Regions from separate parts of the Homo sapiens genome. Here region 2 is linked to region 1. The links are contacts of gene promoters, found by promoter capture Hi-C in blood cells and fetal thymus (Javierre and others, 2016). All regions are on one chromosome and are shown on one strand. The core of a region is centred on a gene start or on the middle of the fragment in contact, and the rest is flanking DNA. Distances in the headings are between cores, read along the strand shown.

Region 1 (5,896 bases), core at 1,809-4,308:
TGAATTAATGAACAAATAAAAAAGGAAGAGTTTATTAAACTGTGCCTTACTATGATACTCATATCAAGCTTTTGCTGTATTTTCCCATCTGTACTTTATTGCTTAAAATTACCCTTGATTATTTGCCAGTTATTCCCAACCAGCCTCGTATTCTACCGTCTTTTTATTGTATTTATTTAGTCTGTACACACATATGCTGGGGTGAAGGTGGGAGTTGTGAGAGAATAAGATGGAAATGCCTTTCAGGGCATTGTGAACAGGTGAGCATGGGTAGAGGCCTGGAGGCAGGAAAGCAAGAGAGTGTGGTTTTGACTAGAGCAGGATGTTGGTAATGGGAGAAGCTATCTGTGGACCTTGAATGTGTGGCTAAGAAATTGTTTACATATATTTTAAGCAGTGGAGGGTTATTTGAAGGCTTTTGTTGCTGTTGTTGACTTCTTTCTTTAATTTACTTTTTAAATGTGGTAAAATACACATAACATAAAATTTACTATTTTAGCCATTTTTAAGTGTACTGTTCACTGGCATTAAGTGCCTTCTCACTGTTCTGCAACCATCACTACTATTCATTTTGAGAACTTCTTTTATTTTCCCAAACTGAAGCTATATTCATTCAACAGTACACTGAAGGTTTTGATAGTTGAGAATTAATGGGATCAGGGCTGTATTTTATAGTTATTGGAATATCAGAAAGATCTACCAAGAACAGAAAGTCAACATGACTCTTGCCACCATTTTGTATATTATTTTGTGATCAAACTAGCAATGTAAGAAATGACATTCTATTTATGAGATTATATCCTCGGACCTGGAAAAAGAAACAGGAGTGGGAGAGATAATTGTGACCTCAATTTGTATAAAAAATGAGCAATAATTATGAATAATTATGATTATTATTAGCTTTTACTGTATGCTAGATATTAAATGAAACACTTTATGTTATCCCATTTAATCTTCACCACAGCTCTCTGAGATTATGACCATGTTACAGATAAGAGCTCTTATATTTAGGGGGATTAATTTGCTCTGGTCACACAACTGGTGTTTAAACCTAACCTGAATTCTTAACCATAATATTGCACTGAGAGAAATACCACCACCTTTTTTTTTTTTTTTTTTTTTTTTACCAAATAGCAAACCATTTCTTTCGAGTCTGTTCACAGTGCCCTGCAGGTAAAAATTTCACTCTATTCCTTATTTTAATGACATATTTTAAACTTCTGCTATGAAACTAGGACTCACCCATTTTATATCGAGGACTTTCACATCCATTCAGTCTACCATTAGATCCTCAAAACAATCCTCTGAAGTTGTGAGGAAGATACTTTTTTTGTTGTTGTTATGGAGGACACTAAAGTTTGAAAAGATTAAGTGCCAGCTTGTTAGACAACTGGCATGAGCTCATCAACGCTTCCAACGGGCACTCCAGAGACCCACCCATTGTGCCCCTCCTTGAAGTGCTGATCTTGTTAATATGTTTGTGAAGTATTTTCTCATTACAAAAATACCTTATTTATCTGCACTACGGAGTCTTCGCTATGGGGCCACTGGATTTTTTTTTTTTTAAAATAGGGAGGTGGTTTCATTATGTTGCCCAGGCTGGTCTTAAACTCCTGAGTTCAAGTGATCCTCTTGCCTCCGCCTCCCGTAGTGCTGGGATTACAGGCATGAGCCACCGCTCCTTGCCTGGATCTTCAGAGTAAATGGAGCATTTGTTTCTGTTTAGACAGGCACCTTAACAAGGGACGGCTTGGACCTCTGGGGAGTCGTGTCCTGTGATAGGAATGGGTGAGTACCTTGGACTCTTGGACTAAATGCATTCTAGTGTCTCTTTTTCCAAAATTCCGTGTTTTCTCTTGAAATTAAGAATGGAGACATTTGGACTTTGGCTTTGGTGGACAATGATTGCCAAAGTATCTTCTTTTAACTTCTCATCTTTAATTCTTCAAAGCCTCCCTAAAACACACACATTTCCCCCCATCCCAACCCAGTCCCATGCCACTCACAAATCCTGGAGATGAAGCTTTGACACTGCATTCAAATCCTTGCTAAAATATAATTTGCTTCCAGCATGAAGTTGACGCAGTATAAGTAATTTAGACATTACCAGGACACTGTCCTTTAAGGAGGTAACATTCTTTGTTCAAGCTGAAGCCTCTTGATGTGCTAGGAGGAAGGACACTGCTCTTACTTTTGTACCCTGAATTTCAGGAAGAGGAACATTTGTAGAACCGTAGCTAGTGTACTCATGTTTCTTGGTATTCAAATTTTGAGAACTCTACTTTCTGGCTGCTGGAAACTCTCTTTTTTCTTTTTTTTTTTTTTTTGAGACGGAGTTTCACTCTTGTCGCCCAGGCTGGAGTGCAGTGGCATGATCTTGGTGCATTGCAACCTCCGCCTCCTGGGTTCAAGCGATTCTCCTGCCTCAGCCTCCCGAGTAGCTGAGATTACAGGTGCCTGCCACCATGCCTGGCTAATTTTTGTATTTTTAGTAGGGACGGGGTTTCACCATGTTGGCCAGGCTGGTCTCAAACTCCTGACCTCAGGTGATCCGTCCACCTCGGCCTCCTGAAGTGTTGGGATTACAGGCATCAGCCACTGCACTTGGCTGAAACTCCTTTTTCCTAGCAAGAAAAGACGGTTTTGACAGTTCTCAGCATGGTGTGGTAAAGATTTGCACAGTCCTCTCCTGTGGCCCTCTTGTGGCCATGTTTGAGTTTGCGTCTCTGCCCGCTTTTTCAACTCACTACGAACTCCCGTGGAATCAGAACATGAAATCTCTGATGCACTTGACGTTTATGTTTTGTTTGAAAATGAAAGTTTTTTCCTCTAACACTTATAACTTAAATCACAAAGCATTTTGTACATGAAAGGTTCTTTGTGGTTCTTTTGCATTATGACATGTAATTTATCCATAAAATGTTAATTACACATAGTTTAATAATTGTCATATTAAAATGCTATCTAGAAACAAGTCTAATTCCTGGATTAAAAAAGTGATCCTCGTGCTTCTAACCACTTTAGTGTACAGAAGAGGCCTCTGAAAGTGTTAAACTCTAAAGTTCTTTCATTTTTCCTAGAAGATAGATTTGGATATATACTTTGTCTCATGGTTCATTAGTGTTTTTCTGTTTCAGCTTCTGCAAAATATGTGTACATTTGTTCAAATATGTGAGCATCTTGAGAGCAGTCTTGTTCTTATTTAGATTTGCATCCTAAGTGCTGTAGCTCTGTACTAGGCACAAATAGTAGGTGCACAGTAATCGCTCATCTAAAATGAACTCAATATGTTCTGTCTTTTGAATGTTCTTCTTATTCCATTGACACCAAACTATTCATAAAACTTTGGAAACTTTGTTTCTAAAAGTGACTTGTTACATTTAAGGAATAACAATTAATATAATGTTTAGGTAAATGATTCATTTCCCTCCCTTCCTTCCTTCCTTCCTTCCTGCCTTGCTGCCTTCCTGCCTTCCAATCAAAGTTGAATTCCAATGATTAAAACAATTTAAAATAAAAAATGACAAATTTAATTAATAAAATGAAACAAAACAGAATTAATTCTAGGTAAGAAGTGAGCACCTGACTTATAGACTATTCAATACCTTCTTGTTAAAGGTGAGCTCATCTCTGATATTTCTTCCTTTCCAAAAAGCCCTGATTGTTGTGTCAGATACTTTAAGAACTATTAAAGGCTATCAGGGATTGATAACCAGAAATACTCAGATAAAAATGGGTGGACAGGAATGATAGAGAGCTTTATGTATTTGCTGTGCTAAACAGAGTCTGGCCCAATCCTCTCGAATGCAGAATTATACACTCAGAATTACGGACTAGTGACAGTGTACGTCTCATAGTAAAAATAAGATTTTTTTTCTGATCTGTATTTTGCTTTTCAGTGTGCGTTTAAGTTTCTGTGTTAACTGTCCTGCTGGTGGTCTCTTCCTTTTAGATATTTACTAAAATACCATTGGGTATGTGGTAAACCACCAAGATGAGCTGCTCTTTTAAGACATAGTAATAAGTATAACTAACAGGGTCAATATGAAGCCAGGACATTTTTGAACTCTTAGTGTGACAAAAGGAAGCTTGAATGCAAAAGCCAGGAAGCCATGTGGCTGAATTGTGAGTTAACACTGAGATGTGTTTGCTTTCAAAACAAAGGGCTACAGCAACTTAAGGTTATCTTTAAATAAATTCAGGGTCCATATTATCAGAAGTAATTGTCTGTCTTGAAATGTGGTCTCCAGGATCAGACAATGACAAATTTAGGAACTTTTCCAAAAAAGAAGAATAAGGAAGGTGAGAGGGAGGCCTGATCAAGCTGTTATTAGAGGAACAGCCGGAGGTTCCTGTGCGACACCAGAGGGAGAGAGGGTGAAGGGGACGGCAGAGTTGATCCCTAAGTTTGAAAGAAGTTGGCATGTGGAGGAGGGGGAGCAAGTGGACCCTTACTGGCTCCCAGGAGCAGATTCTGCCCCAATGTAGGATGAAGCTTCCACCGTTCAAACGTCCTCCTAATAGGGTAAGCTGCTTTGAGAACCAACGCCTGTGCTGCACATTTGAGAAGGGGCTGTGACTAACCAAGCTGCAGACAACATTCTTCTTGTGACGCCAAAGCTGAACTTAATGGCCTCCACTCTGAATTAGTGAAGGAAGCCTGCATATGACATTTGAGTTGTATTTTAATAGCTTTTTAGATGAGACTATGTTCTTATCTAAAATGAGATGATGGGGATAATGGTTGGGATATGGACACAAGAGGCCAGGGTGGAAGAGGGGGATGCAGTGTTCATTTGAAAAATGTTTTTAGCCGGGCACAGTGGCTCACGCCTGTAATCCCACCATTTTGGGAGGCCGACGCAGGTGGGTTAGCTGAGGTTGGGAGTTCAAGACCAGCCTGGCCAACATGGTGAAACCCCATCCTTGCTAAAAATACAAAAAATTAGCCTGACATGGTGGTGGCTGCCTGTAATTCCAGCTATTCAGGAGGCTGAGGCAGGAGAATCGCTAGAACCTGGGAGGCAGAGGTTGCAATGAATCGAGATCACGCCACTGTCCTCCTCCAGCCTGGGTGACAGAGTGATAGAGTGAGACCCTGTATCCAAAAGAAAAAGAAAAAACTCAGAGACCTTTCTCATACTCAGTGAACTTACTTGGCTGAATGAAGCACTATTAATGTGGGAGGATTGGAGAGTGGCTATTAATGCAACAAAGCATATTAAATTATTTTTTTATAAAGATGTTTGTTCACCTCCAAGATGCTCTGTTTTGGCATGAGGCGATGGAATGGAAACCCATTTCCTTTTCTCCTTAAGCTTTCAGGAAGTTCACAGCTTTGCCTCAGGCCAGGCTTTGCCATGGGGCCCACTGTGTGCAGCGATGGCCAGCTGCCACTCTCTGATCCTTCTTGATGGGACCATCCAGGGAGACCCTCTGGACCTCAAAATGTTTGAAGCCACCACCTGGGTAAGCCTCTGCTCTTCAGAGAATCTGAGAAGCTTCTTCAATGCCAGAGCAACATAGGCAATATCAGAGCTATCTAATTCTTATAAAAGGTGAGGTTTCCAATGTGGAGTACATTTGGTAGTGAAGGGCAAACCAATCTAAGGCTGGTTTCCTCATCTGTGCAATGAAGCTAATAATAGCATCTACATAATGAGATTGTGAGGATTAAATGAGATGATGCAGTAAGAAAATCCTTGGCACTATGCCTGGCAAATATTAAAGGTTCGATCATATTAATATAATTGTACTTATTATGCAGTTATTTCTTGTCTCTCTGTACTGTTCTCCGAGCATTGTCTGGTTTCGAAGATTTTCCAGAATATGGGGATCAGAAAACATTGCTTTCTCCAGTGCTCAGGATAACTCATAGATTCACGGGGACTATAAG
Region 2 (5,896 bases), core at 2,400-4,899, 220 kb after region 1:
TCATGGATTACTGGATTAAGGAGTTCATGGATTAAAGGATTATCATGGGAAGGGAACTAGTGGCTTTATCACAGGAAGAGAGACCTAAGCTAGCAAGGTAGCATACTCAGCCCCCTTACCATGTGATACTCTGTACCACCTTGGGACTCTGCAGAGTCTCCACCAACAAGAAGGCTCTCACAAGAAGTGGTCCCTTGACCTTGGATTTCTCAGCCTCCATAACTATAAGAAATACATTAATTTTCTTTATAAATTACTTAGTTTTTGGCATTCTGTTATAAATCTGTTATAACAGAAAATGAACTAATACATTAGTTTGATTATTTCTATAATGTATGGATAGATTAAAACATCACGTTGTACCCCATAAATATAAATCATTGTCAATTTAAAAAAAAAAAACAAAATGAGATATCATTATACATCTAACAGAATAGCTAAAATAAAAAACAGTGACAACATCAAATGTTGACAATGATGCAGAGTCATCATTGTCATTAACTGGATCACTCATTCACTGCTGGTGGGAATGTGTAGCTACTCTGGAAGCAGTCTGGCAACTTCCTTAAAAGTTTAGCTTGTAACTACTATATAATCCAGCAACTGTACTTCTAGGCATTTACCCCTGAGAATAAAGACAATGAAGATTTATAGCCACCCAAAAACCTGCACACAAAAGCTTATAGCAGCTTTATTCATCATATCCCAAAAGTGGAAACAACCAAGATGACCTTCAAAGGGTGGTTAAAAAAATTAAAAAATAAAAAACTGTGTGCAGGCCTACCATGGAATACTACTTAGGAATAAAGGAAAAAACTATTGACATATGCGACAACCTGAATGTACCTCTAGAGAATTATACTTAGTGGAAAAAATAAAAACACACAATGCCAAAGGGTCACACACTATATCATTCCATTTTTATAACATTCTTGAAATGATACAATTATTTAAAAAGATAGTGAACACACAGTGGTTGCTATGAGTTAAGGAAGTGGAGGAGGCAGTGGGAGGGAAGTAGGTGTGGCTATAAAAGGCCAACAAGTGGGATTCTAGTGGTGACAGGTTGTTCTGTTAGACTGCGAGCTGATTATTGTGGTGACCATTTTACAGATGAGGAAACTGAGACTCAGATGAGTTAAGTGCCAGACCTAAAGTCGCACAGGTAGTAAGCGACACAACTGGAATTCAATTTCAGGTGTCCCTTCTTATTCCAGAGTTCATGCTCCTTTTTTATACCATTGATTAACATCATTAACCAAAGGAATTTCTACTAAGCAACATTTCATTTTTTCCCCTTCTCAAATACTATTAGATGGAGCAGCTGCAAAAGCATGCAAATACATATTTCATATAACACCACAGGAAGTTTTTAAATATTCATATGCAGAACCAGAAGATAATGTGAAGTGGAACCTCGCTCCAGAATCCCTGCACCTTTCCAGTTGCGGAGTTTCCGGGTGAGGTTAGAATATCTCTAAGGTGCCCAGGCTCAGATTTTAGGCAAATATCTGTAACCTGTCTGATTGGGTAAGTTTTACATGGACCACATCTACCAATTTCATTCAGACAAATTGTGTAATGCAGTGCTTCATAAGTATGAGAAAACACAGAACCAATTAAAGACACATTTATAACATCCTCTACTACAATCTTTAAGGTAAAAAAATGCTTCATTTTGAGTCCATCTGCAAAGAACTGTATGAACAGTTTATAATAAAGAGTGGCATGAAGGTTAAGTCTGTAATCTTTGTATAAGAAATTTCCCATTTCAACTGGCCAACTGGCAAAACAGGCTGCTGTCTTTATAGCTCTCTGTTGGTCCCTGGGGATGCATCAAAATAAATAAATGTTCCCTGCCGATAGGGACAGGCTGAACGTCTGCTCATGCCTAAGAGGCCACCCAAGTTACAGAAACACGAAGAGCACTTTTTTAACAACTACTCCCAAGAATGTTACTGGAAGTCTGAAACACAATCGCAGGTGATCACAGGCTACCCCTGGCCCAAGGCTTCTAATTAGGTTTCGACCTTTTCCCATTCCAGCTGCACTTTCCATCCATAATCCTCCTACACTGTGATGTTTCCATGAAGCCCTGTATTCCCAGATTGGCTAATTCATAGACTCTCAGTGCTGCAAAGATCCTTGGTCCAACACTCTCACGCTACAAAGGAGGGTTCCACTCCTTGGCCAAATTAACTATCCGCTGCCACAGCACTGTCATGCCTTGCTTGGAATCTTCCAGGGCTTCCCACCACTGACTCCCCATCTTGGTCCCCCGCCCTAGAATCCTGGCATCCTTATTAATCTCTACATTCTAGGCAAATCAAACTATCCATTATTCTTCCCACTCAAGAGTATTGTTTTGTTTTTGTTAATACTGAACCTTCTACCCAGAATGCCCATTTCCAAGTGCCCCAAATGACTCAATCTTAAAAAATCCAAGTCGATGCCACCTTCTCCCCCTCTCTCCTCCACTCCCCAGGTCGGATTGTCTTCCTCCGATCCGCCTTCTTTAGCTTCCACAGGCATCCATCTAATGGCCCATTCACTTCCTACACCTGCCTCAGCTACTGGTCTCTGGGAAATTGTCTCTTGTGGGGCATACGCTATGGAGGGATGCTTCTTGTTTTTCTCTATACCATGCGTCCGATCTTTTGGCTTCCCTGAGCCACACTGGGAGAACTGTCTTGGGCCACACATAAAATACACTAACTCTAATGATAGCTGATGAGAAAAAAAAAAAAAGCGCAAAAAAAAAACCTCTCATAATGTTTTAAGAACATTTACAAATTTGTGTTGGGCGGCATTCAAAGCTGTCCTGGGCCGCACGCGGTTAGTGAGCCACGGGTTGGACAAGCTTGCTCTATACCTTCAGTCTCCGGTGAGAGTGCCTCGCACAAGTAACTGCGGAGCAAATGTTCATTGAATGAAGGAATGAGGAATCCAAGCCCAGAGAAAACATGAGTGACTTTTTCCAGCACGAGTCATATTAATAGTCTCGCATGCCAAAGGAATATCACCATCCAACTTTCCAAAATCCAATACGATAATAATTACTTGTATTATTATTCATATTCACTTCAGTGAGGACAGTAGGCTTAAAAAGCCTTAAACAGGTTGGGTTTCTAGTCCCAGCTCTGCCACTTAATAGCTGTGTAACCTAGGGAAGAAAGTCTCTTGCCCTGTGGACTGAGTTCCCCAGTCTGTGAAAAAGAGGAGGGTGGATAAGCTCCGTTGTTCTCTAGTCATGTCAACTTTTCCCACTTGCCAGTTGGTTAGAACACGGTTGGTTGCCGGGGCGCCTCGAGGTCCTCCCCCACTCCGCCCAGCACACCTCACTCTCAAGCCGGGGTCTTCTTCTCGCACCGGGAGGCAGCTGTGTGTGTCCTGGGGTCTCTCTTGGCCTCGCAGCTGCCGACCTTGCCGCCGGCGGCCGCGGGACGACTCCATCTGTACCCGGGAGACACCCGGGAGGCAGGCGCCAGCCATCACTCGGGGCCGTCCTCCAGGGCCAACGCCAGCACCAGCGCCGCCACGCTGAAACGGTCCCGGCGGCCCCTCCGCGGCTCTGAGACGCCCGCACGCCGGGGGGCCGACGCGCTGGGCTCGGCGTCCGGGCGCTGCCGAGCCGGCACGAGGCTCTGACCATGGGGAGCCGCCCGCTCCGCCCAGGAGGCGGGGCACAGTCGCTCCGGCTAGACCTCGCTTGGCCCCGAGCCCAGCTTCGCCCGCCCGCCCGCCCGCCCGCCGGGGAACTGCACCTTCTCGCGCCCCGACGCAGCCGCCTCCGCGCGCGCACGCAACGCACGCGCTCCAGCGCCTACGGTCAAAGCGCCGCGCAACCAGTTATTCCGCCCCCGGCTCCGCACCCGCGTCTCGGACGTTCCCGCAGCCAACGTTTAGGGCACCAGGCGCTGTGCTAGGCGCCGCGGTTATAAAGATAATCGGTTTTGTTGAGCCCAGGAATGTTCGGGTACACCCATCATGAGTACACCCACTCTTCTAGCCTAACAAAAATTCCCTTAGGGCCCAAGGAATCATGGTACCTGCACCCCAAGAAAGCCTCTGGGTCTTTGAGTCAGCAAAGTGGCGGAGGAAGGACTGGCCCTAAAACAACCTCACTGCTTACACACACCACACCACACACACACACACGCCAGATAGCCAGCAGAGACCTCCAACCACACACACACACACACACACACACACACACGCCAGATAGCCAGCACAGACCTCCAGACCCCGCCCCGCCCCCCTCCCCCGGCCCCCCTCCGCCCCCACGCGCCAAATAGCCAGCAGAGACCTCCAGGATATGGCTGTGAGTTTAAAAATAAAGCTGGGGCAGGGAGAGTATCCTTTTTCTCACTGCTAAAAAAAGAGGCCAGGAATACTAACCTAGCTAAGTAAGGAACCCTTGAAGACTAAGTGAACTTTATGGAGCGCTGCACAGGACGTTGCTTCAACCTAGTCATAACTTAGATTTTTATTCTGATGTAAATGGAATCTCAGCTAAAAGGATTTTTTCCCACTTATTTGAAGGCTAAAAAATATCTCGCTAATTTTATGTATTTTGTCATAATGGGATAACAACTACCTAAATATGCAACTTTTTTCGTAAAGCTATTGGGTTGTGTTATGAAGGTTAAGGGTGAATCTGAGTGATCTGAAACTTTGGGTCTGGATTGGCACCTTTGGAAACAGTCCACAGAAGGACATTGAAAACGTAATTATTGACAAAGTGGAAACTAGAACACTTGAGAAGTTGTAGCTTTTTTTATGCATTAATATTTTCTTACATGTTCCTTAATATATATCCAGAGTTATAAGCTGAATCAGATATGCCTTTCAATACCCTTTTAATGTCTCAAAGAGAAAGCCATAAACATGCATTTGCTTTATGTTTCTCAACTATTTCGATGGAGTCATCACTGTAGGAAGTGGTTCATGATTTTATACAGGAGAGGTATTGTGAGCATTTATAAAGCCATCCTGCTTATGAGCCAAATTTATTATGTTTGCTAGGTTAATCTGTTTTCTCTAATCAAACACTTAATCATCCAGTCTCCTCTCTGCGTTATGGATTCATGAATGTGAAGTGAGGAGAGTTGCTCAGTCAAGGTAAAATGATAAATTATCTTTTCATTTTCAGGGTATTTGTGATTAAATGCTTCATAATAGAATTAAAATGAAATAAATCTTGTAATTTCACTTCTAGATTCCTGCCAGGTATAGATAAAACGCATTTGGTTAAGAACAAATTCAATTCAATGCCTGCGTGGAATTTATAGGAGAAATGTAGAAAGCGTTGTAGTTCAGGAGAGCCCTGAGTTCTCTCTTCATTTCTATGGATTGGAGAGAGAGTTGATCAATCGGTGGTACTCTACGGATGAGCAGTGGAAAATTAAAATTTCCATTAAGAAAGAATGAGGACTTAGCCTTGGGCAGTAATAGGCAAAGTTTGTCTTAATCTAGAGTTGTAATCTGGGGCTATGATTGGAGCAGATGTTAAATTACACTTAAATAAACAGTTCCTATTATTTTGGCCATTATAAGTGAAGCCCTGTGTGGCTGGCATTCTCTGTTGCTGCCTAATTTTATAGTAAGAGTTGAAACATATTGAAAAAAGCATAATGGAGATGACTTAGTCCTGTTTGTTGTTGAGTGAATAAAGTTCACATTCCAGAAAAAGCCCTATAAGGTAACAAAAATTACAATTGGCTTTTTAACACATGGAAACTCAAACCAATTGGCATTGTGTGATATTAGACAGAGGCCTCAAACAACCCTATATGTTTTGTGCATATTTTACAATTAGCAAAGCGCTTTGATTCTGTTGTCTCATTTGATCCTCTCAGCAAACTTGTGACTGCTCAGTCCTGGCAGTTGGTGTGAG

Evidence for each region. The method cuts DNA at HindIII sites, captures the fragments that hold promoters and counts their contacts. A CHiCAGO score of 5 or more calls a contact.
Region 2: the fragment with the promoter of PLAAT1 here is called in contact with a fragment that was not itself captured in region 1 in 1 of 17 cell types (endothelial precursors); the score reaches 5.1 in endothelial precursors.

The regions. Positions count from the first base shown.
Region 1 is chr3:193,458,654-193,464,549 of GRCh38, reverse strand. It overlaps ATP13A4 (ATPase 13A4), which reads left to right. Exons shown (of 30, transcript NM_032279.4): 13 at 1,727-1,788; 14 at 5,319-5,469. Among named protein-coding and RNA genes, the nearest start is that of ATP13A5, 83 kb to the right of the region's middle. The HindIII fragment of the contact is 2,065 bases long and covers 2,026-4,090 here.
Region 2 is chr3:193,238,975-193,244,870 of GRCh38, reverse strand. It overlaps PLAAT1 (phospholipase A and acyltransferase 1), which reads right to left and starts at 3,649. Exons shown (of 4, transcript NM_020386.5): 1 at 3,338-3,649. MGC2889 (a long non-coding RNA gene) reads right to left here and starts at 3,092. Exons shown (of 1, transcript NR_026877.1): 1 at 899-3,092. LOC105374280 (a long non-coding RNA gene) reads left to right here and starts at 3,848. Exons shown (of 3, transcript XR_924833.3): 1 at 3,848-3,976; 2 at 5,026-5,121. RefSeq lists a silencer at 3,498-3,747. The HindIII fragment of the contact is 3,333 bases long and covers 2,863-5,896 here.